Regions from separate parts of the Homo sapiens genome. Here region 2 is linked to region 1. Evidence: promoter capture Hi-C in 16 types of primary human blood cells and fetal thymus (Javierre and others, 2016). All regions are on one chromosome and are shown on one strand. Each heading gives the region's core, a stretch centred on a gene start or on the middle of the fragment in contact. The rest is flanking DNA. Distances are from core to core; before and after follow the strand shown. Region 1 holds the start of ZNF202 (zinc finger protein 202). Region 2 has its middle 12 kb from the start of OR10D3.

What was found. Contacts are between HindIII fragments. The CHiCAGO score rates a contact against its expected background, and 5 or more counts as called.
Region 2: a fragment that was not itself captured here is called in contact with the fragment with the promoter of ZNF202 in region 1 in 1 of 17 cell types (monocytes); the score reaches 6.2 in monocytes.

What each region holds. Positions count from the first base shown.
Region 1 is chr11:123,740,392-123,746,910 of GRCh38, reverse strand. It overlaps ZNF202 (zinc finger protein 202), which reads left to right and starts at 5,251. Exons shown (of 9, transcript NM_003455.4): 1 at 5,251-5,362; 2 at 6,375-6,494. RefSeq lists enhancers at 4,069-4,666, 5,656-5,865 and silencers at 5,256-5,305, 5,346-5,475. The HindIII fragment of the contact is 6,844 bases long and covers 968-6,519 here.
Region 2 is chr11:124,191,804-124,197,930 of GRCh38, reverse strand. No RefSeq gene overlaps it. Among named protein-coding and RNA genes, the nearest start is that of OR10D3, 12 kb to the right of the region's middle. The HindIII fragment of the contact is 2,903 bases long and covers 874-3,776 here.

The DNA.
Region 1 (6,519 bases), core at 4,002-6,501:
AGTGTGTGTGTGCATTTTTTTTGTAGAGACAGGGTTTTACCATGTTTCCTAGGCTGGTCTCGAACTCCTAAGCTCAAGGGTTCCACCCACCTCAACCTCCCAAAGAGCTGGGATTATAGGTGTGAGCCACCATACCTGACCAGCTTCTCATTAATTTCAGCAGTTAATTTGGCCTATAAGACCATTAGTCTATTAGGTCTGATCTCTGTCCACAATATCAGGCCTCACAAATTCCTCTATTGCTGTCAGACCGCAGCCACACCAGCCTCTTCTCAGTTTCTCCAGTACACCAAGGCTCCTTCCCATTTCAGAGCTGTGGTATACACTATTTCCCATTACTTCAAGTATTCTTTTTTACTCACCTCAGTAAAAGGAAAACAAAATCTTGGGACCCCAAACTCACTATGCCAAAGGGAAAAGCTATGCTTGGGAGCTAAATCACGCAAAAACTGCCTTCCTTTTTTTTTTGTTTCTAAACACATACTTTTTGTTTCTAAACACATGTGTTTCTGAAATTCCTTTTGTTTCTAGGCATATTTACTTTACTTCACATTTACTTTACCTCATAGAAAATGCAGATCTATGCATAATTGACTTTGTCCCCACTACTTTCTTTTCAGATGTAAAATGTGGATTGCTGAGCACTGGTCAGAGCTTCACAAGAATGGGACTTCTTGCTAGGTGCCTACCCTCCCCTTTTTCTTCTTTCCTCCTTCCTCTCCTGCCTGCTCTTTCTGCTTTAAATATTGAAGTCCTCTTTGGAAAAAGCACAGGCCACAGATCCTACTGCAACTTGTGTCTACTTTTCCACGGTGCATCCTCAACCTTGGCAAAATAAACCTCTAAATCAATTGAGGTCTGTCTCAGACACTTTTTGGTTTATACCCCATCTCCCAACCTCACCCCCAGGCTCATCCTGCCCAGGCATTCCACAGACTCAGTTCAAATGTCACTATTCAAGAAAGCTTTCCCTAACTACCTCTCTAACAGCACCACCACCAGGATTAGGACCTCCAGTAACAAGTTCTTGTAGCACTCTGTATTTCTCTGGAGAACTTACAATAATTATAATTAATTTAATTAATCATAATTAAATAACCACAGTTAGTGAATTGCGTAAGTTATTTAAACTGTTTTCTTCTTCCCCAACTCCTTCATATCATACACACACACACCAGTTGAAAGTTAGATCGAGAACAGATATTACGTCTTTCTTATTCTCCATTCTGTTCCATATACCTACCACAGTGTCTTGTAAGAGCAGTCACTCAAAAAATCATTGACAAATGAAGGACCAGCTAACTGCGCTGACAGAATTCTGATCACATCACATATGGAATATATCTTTTGTATGTAAATATATCCTCTATTATGTAAATATCTCATACTCCATGTTTTCCAAGTAGAAATTGATTACCACTGATATTAGATTAGAATCCCCAATTTATATCATTCACAAAAATAAATTCCAAATCTAACCATAAAAAGGAAAAGCAAAAAGTAGTAGAAGAACATACAGGAGAAGCCTTTATGACTTTGGTGCAGAAAAGATATTCTTAAATAAAACACCTAATTTGAAGCGGGGGAAAGAGTGTATCAGATTTGAAACTTTAATACTACAAAGTTAGACAATAATCTAGAAAGTTAAGGAAAACATTAATTTAATATTAATATTTAAAAATATTCAATGAGATTTATAGAGAAAAACATCTTATACACAGCAGGCTTTCATGAACTTAGTCAAGACACATAAAATTAATATATCTCTTGCAATATATACGTAAAATCATTAGGATCTAGGATACATAAAGAACATCTAACAACCAATTTAAAAAAACAAAAAGTCCAATATAAAAATAAAACTCACAGGAAAACTACAAATTACCAACAAATGTATGAAAGAAAGTTCAGTCTCACCATTAACGATGGGAAGGCAAAGTAAAACAATTAGATATTATTTTTGCCCATTAAACTGGCTGAGATTTACAATTCCGGCAACATGAGGTAAGGGCATGGATACAGGGAAAAAATCTTGTATACTGTTGTTAAGGGTGTAAACAGGTGCATTCATTTGGGAGGAAAACTTGGCAGTATTCATTAAAAGTGTGCAACCTTTGACCCAGCAATACTCTTTCTCAGTATCCGTCTCAGAGTACCATTGCATGTACGCACAAAGAGGGTGATCATTATAGCATTGTTTGTAATCCCAACAATTATAAAAACTTATGTTTTCAACAGGCAAATTGCTATTCAGACTATGGAATGTTATGCAGAAAGCAGAAGGAATAAGGGAGATTTTTATTTACCGCTATCAACAGATCTCCAAGGCCCACTGCTAAGAGAAAACAAATGGAAGAATTCAACATGAACACACAGGTATACACACAAGTACACAGAAAATAATACTATGTACTTTCTGTGGATACATATGTACACAGCACATGAAAATAAAAATATCTGGAAGATAAATACATTAGGGTCATAAGAACAGCTAACTTCTGGAGAGAGAGGAGGAAGCCAGGGTTGGTAAAAATGTCATTAGCGGCCAGGCATGGTGGCTCATGCCTGTAATCCCAGCACTTGTGGGAGGCTGAGGCTGGTGGATCGGGAGGTCAAGAGATTGAGACCATCCTAGCCAACATGGTGAAACCCCATCTCTACTAAAAATACAAAAATTAGCTGGGCATGGTGGTGCATGCCTGTAGTCTCAGCTACTCGGGAGGCTGAGGCAGGAGAATCGCTTTAACCCGGGAGGTCGAGGTTGCAGTGAGCCGGGATGGTGCCACTGCACTCCAGCCTGGTGGCAGAGTGAGACTCCGTCCCAAAAAAAAAAAAAAAGTCATTAGCTTTATCCATTGACAAAATCTCTTTTCTTCGCCAAACTTGTCAGGCTTCTGAAACTTCTCCTAGGGCTATCGGCGTACTTCCTTGTAAAATCTACTGTTAGCAAAGAACTCTAAGTCCTTTGGCAGGAACGCCCCCATCCTTGATATCTGACCATCCTTAATACCTGGTCAGTGTCCTCATCCTCCATCACGCCCCAGGTGATGTCTGATCAACCTGGCCTGTCTTCAGCAAGAATCCTATTAGGTTGACTTAGCCAGAATCCGCCTTAAGCCTGATGTTTCCCCTTAGTAATTTTCAATCCATCGACGTCCCAAACTCCAAAAAAAGTTCCTTGACTATAAATTCCCACTTGCCCATTCTGTATTCAGAGTTCAGCCCAATCTCTCATCCCTACAGCAAGACTTCATTGCAGTGGTTTCTTTACCTTTCCTGGTCCTGAATAAGGTCTCCCTTACCATGCTCTAACAAGTATCACTGAATAATTTTTCCTTTAACACTGTAATGCATTAAATGTTTAGAAGAAGATGTTTATGTATTATTTATGCACTTAATACCAATATTTTAAAATATTCAATGAGATTTACAGAGAAAAATATTTGGTACACAGTAGGCTTTCATGAAATGTATATTTCTCTTTGTATTGGGTAATTTTATGTGTCAACTTGACTAGCTAAGGGATGCCCAGACAACAGAAAACATTATTAGTCGGTGTGTCTGTGAGGGTGTTTCTGGCCAATATGGTGAAACCCCCTCTCTACTAAAAATACACACACACAAAAAAAAAATAGCTGGGCATGGTGGCACATGCCTGTAATCCCAGCTATTCGGGAGGCTGAGGCAGGAGAATTGCTTGAACCCAGGAGGCAGACATTGCAGTAAGCCGAGATCGCTGGGCGACAGAGCAAGACTCTGTCCAAAAAAAAAAAAAAAAAAAAAAAAGAGAGAGAGATTAGCATTTGAATCAGTAGACTGAGTAAAGAAAATCACTCTCACCACTATGCGTAGGCACCATCCAATCCATTGAGGGCCCAAATAGTATAAAAAGGCAGAGGAAAAGTAAATTCACCTCTCTCTTCTTGAGCTGGGACATCATCTCCTCCTGCTCTCTGGCCTTCAGACACCAGCACCTCAATCCCTTTCCAGTTCTCAGGCCTTCAGCTTTAGACTGAATTATACCACCAACCTCCTTATTTCTCCAGCTTGCAGTAAGCAGATGGTGGGACTTCTCAACGTCCATAATTATGTAAGCCAACTCCTTATAATAAATCTCCTTTTATATGTTTATACATACCCCGTGTGAAAGGAAAGTGATTTGGGGCCCCCAAAATCACTAAAGGGAAAATTCATGCTGGGAACTGCTTAGGGCAAACCTGCCTCCCCTTCTATTCAAAGTCACCTCTCTGCTCACTGAGATAAATGCATATCTGATTGCCTCCTTCCGGAGAGGCTAATCAGCAACTCAATGCAACCATTTGTGTCTTATCTACCTATGACCTGGAAGCCCCCTCCCCGCTTTGAGTTGTCCTGCCTTCTGGGTTCACACCTATTAGTTCTGTTTCGCTAATACACTGCCACTCCACCAAAAGTAACTAATCCTTTGGTTCAAACCCAGTAAACAGATCCCAGCAATGTGTCCCATGAAAAGGAAGTGGCACATGGCACGTGGAGAGTGGTGACTTACAGGGTAAAAGGGACAGAGAGCAAAGGAAAATGTCAAGTATGGGCAGAAAGGTCACCGAACGGACAAAAATGAACAAATGAGATCAGGGAAGACAGCCTGAAAGTAAAGAAATACGAAGCAACACTCAAAGGAAAAGAAAGAACAGTGATACCATAACTATTTTCTTTCTGAGCTTCTGATGTTCCATTCAGTTCATGTGCAATGTATCATTTAGTCCTCAGAGTAACGGTATTATTATGCCCGTTTTATATGATGCACAATAGGGTTCAAAGATGGAGAGATTCGGCCGAGGCCCTGCTGCTGATGGTGACTGCAAGAGCCAGTATTCAAACCTAACGCTGCCCTTTTCTACCATGTTGCAGCGGACAATGCAAAGAAAAAAAAATCAAGAAAAACACGTAGAGGTATCCAAATGAAAACAAACACACAAAAGATCAAAAACAGAAAAGAAAAAAGAAAAGAAAAAGAAAACCCTTGCAGAAGGTATGCCTGTAAATGAAAGGCCCAAGATGTTAATTTATTCGCTGCAGAGTGGAGTTAGGGGTCGCGGACGGCAGCTGTGGGGTCCGAGGCTTCTTCGCACTGGGTCCTTGGGGAGCACTGAGCCGCAACCCGCGGAGGGCGCATAGAGAGGATCAAACCTCCCACAGCCTAGAAAGGCTCCTACTCGGCGAGAAGGCGGGGCGAGCGATCGCTTCCGGTTCCGGGCGCAAAGGCCCCACGTGTTCCGACCCGCTAGGCCCCGCGCGGCTCGGATCCGGCGGCGCTGTTTCGGTCGGGAGTGGGTGGGAGAGAAGCCGGGGCAGGGGAGGAGCCGCCGGAGCTGTCGGAGCCGTGAGTCCTGAGTGGGCTGGGCTGGGCCGGGCCGGGCTGGACCGGGCCGGACCAGATCGGGCAGAGCCGGGCAGGGCGGGGAGGAGGGGGAGGGACCGGAGACCCCGCCCCCCAGAGTCTGGGGAAATCGCCGTGTCCTGGGGAAGGGGTGGCGGCGGTGTACTGAGGGTGCCGAGACGTTGTGGTCTCTGTGTTTCCTGGTGGCCGGAGCCAGTATCTCCGGGGACACGGATGGCGCTCCCGGCTTCCTTTCCTTTCCAGCCACCGCCCTCCGCCCCCTCCTGGGGCCTGCAGAAATGTAGTTAGTCCGTACCTCGTACCTCCTAACGCTTCCGCGCCAACTGTCCCCCCGGAACCGAGGGAGGAGTGGTCTAGGCCCCTTTATTTTCCGCAGCTTTTTCTTACCCCTCCTCTCAGATTGCTTAAGATCATCTCCGCGGGCTCCTTGCCCCGGCTAGCCCCATCTCCTTACACCACCAAGCCCCCCTCAGCCCCCCAGCACACACCCAGATACACTCACCCGTGATCTTGTCACCTGTGATGATAGTAGTCCTTGGCGTCCATTTGGCCAGAGGCTTTTCAGCTGCCACTGTGACAGACCCTGAGGTCCCCTCAAGCCAGTAGCTGCTGTCTCCACTTGCAACTTTCCTCTCCTCCCACTCCTAACAGCCAGTTTTGGCACCTCTTCTCAGCACCTGCGTTACTTTTAGCAGGAGTATACCTACTTCTTGAGTGTCTTGATTAAAAATTTGTTTTTGTGCCATGGATAGGCTGTGTTCCTTCAGAAAGGTGTCAGTCTAATTTTTGTTTTTCTGAACAATGAATGTTCTCATCTTCTAGGCGCTTTGATAACCCTGTCTGCCTTGGAATCTGTACTGACCTCCCCAGAGGGAGACTCTTAGACCCAGCCTTTCTTGAACAACCTTGGTCCTGGGGAGCAGCGCTAGATCCCAGGCTCTCAATTAGAGGCTGGGCTTAGAACTGTTGCTTTTTCTCTATCCACGCTCTGCAGGTGACACCCAGGGCAGCTACACTCAGAAGCCACAAGGAATGCTAGTGGAGCCCCTCATCCCTCCCAGCTTCTCTTCCAAGCTGCCCCGTGGGGCTTGATCCAGGAAGCTACTTCAGAAAGGTTGTGGGATAGCCTTGGGAGGAGG
Region 2 (6,127 bases), core at 1,076-3,575, 450 kb before region 1:
ATTTCAAGTGTTCTCACTATATACAAAAAAATCTAACTATGTGAGGTGATGAATATGTTAATTATCTTGAGTTTGGTAATCATTTCACAATGTATGTGTATATAAAAACATCACATTGTATAACCTAAATATATGCAATTTTTATTTGTCAATCATACCGCAATAAAGCTGGTGAAAAAACAGAAATAAAACAGGTACAGAAATAAAAACATTTCATGATCTCACATATGTAGAATCTAAAAAACTGAATACACAGAAACAGAGTAGAAAGGTTGTTACTAGGGGCAGGACCAGGTTGGGGGAAGATGAGGAGATGTAGGTCAAAGGGTACAAAGTTGCAGTTATGTAGGATAAATAAGACTAATGTGCATATCACATATTTTATCCTGTAAATTTGCCAAGATGGTAGATTTCAGGTCCTTTTACACAAACAAAAGTAAATGTGAAGAAATGTTGATTTGCTTCACTGTAGTCATCATTTCACTGTGTTTACGTACAAGGATAACAAAACATGATGTTATACACCTGAAATATAGGCAATTAAAATTGTATGCCTATAAAATAAAATGTTTTTAAACCGACAAAGGAAAAAAAGATTATCTGTAAAGTTGCCATAATCAATGCAATGTGAAATTGACATAAGAATAGACAGATCAAAGAAATAGAAGAGAAAGTCCAAAGTAGCCCCACCCATCATTCTTCGACTGAAACCTCATAGCAGCTCAGTAGGAAAAGATGTCTCTTAAACAAATTATGCTGAAACAACTGAATATTCACATGGGGACAAAATGAACATCAATCTTTACTCCAGACCACAAACAAAAATTAATTTGAGATGGGTCATAGATACAGAGAAAATTAAGCTATAAAGCTTCTAGAAAAGAATACAAGAGACTATCTTTAAGACCTAGTAAGAGAAATGTACTATTTTGTTCTTTTAACTTAAATTATTCTATAATCCTTTTTCCATGCTGCTAAAATAATTTTGATAGCCAATAATAATGACCATATGTTTTATTAAGTCAACACATTATATTTTGCCTAATGTTATCCATATCTGAATATTTAAATGCCATTGTTCTTGCCATTTGAAATGAATTGGCATTACATATATTTTTCCTTTAGAATAATTTCTCAATATTAGACTCCTAGGGCCAAAGTATATAAACATATCAATTTATCTTATTTGTATTTAAAAGTTCCTTTTCTGAAGGATGTTACCAATGTGTTTTAAACTTCTGAATGAACCATGCTGCTTTATTCCTTTGTACTTTCACAAATCCTGCTCTTTTTCTTCCTCCATGACTTTTTTTTTTTTGCAGAGCTGACTTTTATTATCTGTTATAAAATTTAATATTTATTCCCTTATTGCATGTTTTTTTCTCATATCTCTCCCCATTTTGAGACAGGTATTCCTCTTAAGTGCTGTCATAAAATCCTGCGTGTTCATATATTGTTGCAATCATCACCTTCAGGGGTAGGGTAAATGCCTTGTTGGACTTGTAAATTCAACTCCTGTCACTATACAAAACATAGAATAGATAATAAATACTCCTGGAATGAACACATAAATCAATAAATGCTACCAGTAGTGTAAAAATGTTGTGGGGCTTCTGTAGCTTTGTTAATATATAGTTTGATTATTTACTATTTAATATTAGTTTGCTTATTCAGTAGATATAAAATGGTATCATCATGTCACATTGTATACTATATTTTTCAAAATTAATAGTCACATTAAGGATCTATATTTATTAGTTCAATTTTCTTTGCATTAATTGTAACTTATTTCATTACATGTTTGAAATGATCATGTTGATATGTTTCTACATGTTCGATTCAATTTTAAACCTACATGTAATTTTGTATACTATTGTTCGAAAAATTTTATATTTTGGAATATATTTTATATTTTGAAATATAAATTATATCTTCTCCATTATTTGATAATGTATGTATAGTTTATCTTCTTTTAATTGAGTCCCTTCAGCATATGTGAAGTATAACATACGTAGAAATTAGAAACACAGCCTGGAAAGTGCAATGTAATGTAAGGTGAAATATTACGGTATTTATCATCTAAAATTAGAATACAGAGGAAGCATAGCCTATGTCTTCTCACCAGTATCAAGTCAGACTTTTTGCAGGAGAATTTTGACAGATTTTGAAAACAATGAATTGCATCCCAGAGAGTGGAAACAGCCTATCCAAATATACCAAAGTTTGATATAGTTAGTTTTGGAAAAATGACAAATAATTTGGTGAGTTTAGAGTGTAAGGCCTGATGGGAAAAATGGACAAGGCCATGAGACTGGGCACTGAGATACAGACAGATTATAAAAATCATTGTATATCATATTAGAGTAGATTTTACTCTAAAGTTAGTAAGGAGACATAAAATATTTTAATGCATGGGAATTAACATGATCAGATCTACTCTGCGTGTAAATATCTATGCAGAGGTTGTCATTTCTTCCAAATTACCAATGAACTTGTAAAACAAATTTCCTCTTCTGTCCCTGCCCTTCCAAAAGCACACATCATGATTACCCCTAAAGCCAAGGAGAACTGGTCGTTCTGTGCTAAGGTTGGAGATGATCCTATGTCCATCAGGGGGCGATAGAGCACAGTTTGCAGAATACGGATTATCATGTGGCCTCCAGGCTGGCACAATTTGTTGTCCAGCTACTGACTTCTTAGACTGCATCACATAACTAACATGCTGCCAGAATCCTATCTGTAGAGCTAATATAGACTAAATAGGAGATAGGGACCATGGCTGTCATATTAGTGCAGGGACAGAGACCGGGGAAAAGATCAGAAGAACTAGGGATGATTTGAAGATTCTAGGAGAGCCTGCATGTCCTTCTTTTGGATCACAGCCAAAAAGGCAAGGAGAGGACAAAAGCAAGTTTCTCATTCTTGATCAGACCTCCCTTCCACCCTCCGGGACTTGCAATGGAGACTGTGCCCAGTGACTTGCTTTCAGTTTGGTAGGTTATGCGCTTAACATTCCCATGTTGTGATAGAGAGCTTGCCCAGAGGCACGGAGCCCAATGCAGTCACCCCTTTTCTCATATTACAGGAACATGAGACTCTAAAGAGGGAGGGGATTAAATCCTATTACTGGCATATCCGTCAAAGGGAAATTCCAAGTTTTTCAGCTCCTAGGTTGCTAAGAATCAAAACAAGAAAACATTCTTATGACCAGGAGTGGCAAATTCATATTCTCAGATTCATTACGAATTTACAATATACAATTCTAAAATCTAACATACCCTGTATGTTTACTACTTCCCTTTATCTAAATGCACAGCTATAACTAGAACTATATGAAAAATTATCAAAGATTGCTGTTCTCTAAAATGAAGCATACAGTTGAGACATATTGAGTATATATTGTCTTAGGGGTGACCTTTGTTCCCCAATTGTCACAACCACTATGGATCAGTTAGCAATAAATGTCTTGAGTTTTCATGTCATCATAAATGTAACTACTTATCAGAGTTTGTGAGTGTACTTCAAACTCTCATTACAAACTTGCTGAAACTGAACATCAGATCTACTACTGTAAGGTTGACTCTGGTCTTACTATTTCATATAAATTTCTAGATCTTTGTATTCTGTTTAGTTAAAAACTATGGTCATCCTATTTCACTTCACTCATACTGTTTTTTCTCAGATGGGTGGTATTTGTCAAGAGTATATGTACTTCCAAAGAAAATGAGATTTCAAAGGAGAAACATTTCTTTTAGCTTGGAGCATTAAGGAAAGCTTTGGCAAGAAAACAATGTTTGGATGGTGTCCTGAAAAATGAGCATAATTTGGTCCTATGGAGAACAACGAAACTGACATCCCAAACAGAGGCCACATGAAGACTAGGACTCAGAGTCATCAAAAGCAGGGAATATGTGAGAAATACACCAAAATTCAGGATCCACGATAGAGCACAATGTGAGAAACATGGCCTAACACGGCAACAGAATAGCTTAATTTAGGACTGAACTGGAGAATCCAGACCATGTTGTCAGCGTTGGTTTGGAAAATTACAAAGGAGTTTGAGTTGGCTTGTGGAGAAGTCAAAAATAAAAGAGAAATAGGAATAAAATTGGTGACAGAGATCAGAACCAGATGTTAAAAAGCTTCAAATGTTAAACTCAATATAGTCAGCCTTGACATCAATAGGAAATGGAAACATACCAAAGAAATTTTTAGCAAGAGAGCAAAATGATTTTGTCAATGTTTTATATGGCAAAACTGGCAGCAGTTAAAAAAACAAAGTGAAATTACAGAAATGAAATCATGATTGAGAAATATAAGCAATTAGGTTAGTTTTTTTCAGAAATATTTGTAACTAGATGACTGTGGTTTAAAATTTAAAAGAAAAAGGTATTGAAATGCCCTATTGAGGAACAGGGTTGACTACTCTCACCCGGGATTAATTATTTAAGGTGGCGGGACCAAAACAAAACCTAACTAGTCAGGCCCTTCCACTCTTGAGCTATACTCAAAAGAGAGCTTAACCTCAGTGAATCTGTTACGTATAAAGACTTCCTCCTTTGAGAAACTCTATTTCCCTCTTTCTCTCTCTCTCTTTAAAATGCAAAACAGAATTTATTTACATAATTGTTTGAATAGTTGTATTGCCTTTTACTTCATTATTTTTTAAAATGATAAGACATCTCACAATCTTGCATTTATTTGCTTTCTTTTTAAAATTTTTAGCTTTTTTATTTCAATAGGTTTTTGGAGAACAGGTGGTGTTTGGTTACATGAGTAAGTTCTTTAGTGGTGATTTCTGAGAGTGCTGATGGGTGATGACGGGTGCACCCATCACCCGAGCAGTGTACACTGTATCCAGTGTGTAGTCTTTTATCCCTCACCACCCCCTACCCTGAGTCCCCAAAGTCCAATTCATTGTTCTTATGCCTTTGCATCCTGATAGCTTAGCTCCCACATATGAATGAGAACATGTGATGTTTGATTTTCCATTCTTGAGTCACTTCACTTAGAATAATAGTCTCCAATTCCATCCAGGTTACTGCGAATGCCATTATTTCATTTATTTTTATGGGGCTGAGTAGTATTTCATGATATATATATGTTATATATATTATATATATTATATATAATAATTATAATATATAAAATATATATAATATATAATATAGTAGTATATTCCATTGTATATATACAATAGTGTATACTGTATATACACCATTTCACGGTGTGTGTGTGTGTGTGTGTATATGTGTGTGTATATATATATATATAACCTTTTCTTTATTCACTTGTTGATTGATGATATACTTTCTTATGTAATTTTCACAACGGTTCCATGAGATAAGTAGAATTACTCTCATAATTTTCCCCATAACAAAGCAGACTTAGATCCAGGTATTTTTCTTCATAATATCTAAGATTTATCCGGAGACCCTGCCCATGAGCTCAAGGAGAAATGAACAGTGTATGGGTCACAACTAAGAATCATGAAGTGAATAATTTCATTAGATGAAGTTTTGGGGGAAGGATCAAGTCCTGAAGTATGCAGCAAACTTCCCACAGAAGTAAGCAAAGCTACAGAACAGATCTGATGAAAGAGGTGGAGAGCAGCCATCACTGGGTGGTGTCATGGAATCTAGGAGGAAAGAGCCTTCGTGTTTATTTATTTGGAGGATGCTAGAAAGAACAATTTTGACAGAGTGGACTGGGAAATAAACCAGTAGATCTGAGGATTCAGACCACTGATGGGAGAGGTTTGGTAGTTTAAAGAAGCTCTGTGATAATGATCATTGGATCTGTGAGCAGATGACTTTGAGATTTTCAGTACCCTCCTGGTCATGTGTCTTATGAGCATAAGTGTCAACCATATCTTGCTGACTATGAGACTTTCCACTTGATAAAACTGAGCATCTCTTTATCTGATCCTCTGTGGGGATTATCATGAGTTGGGAATGTGTTTTAAAAGAGATGCTCGATTTTCCTGTGGCTTATGCTTCAGTGTCTACTATCACTAATACATAAGTAGGTTAGCATGCACAGGGGCTTAGCATGATTCATTTAAGTTTGGAAAATTAAGAGCCCATGTTATGTATGATCTTAAACATATAACAAGTAGTATGTAACA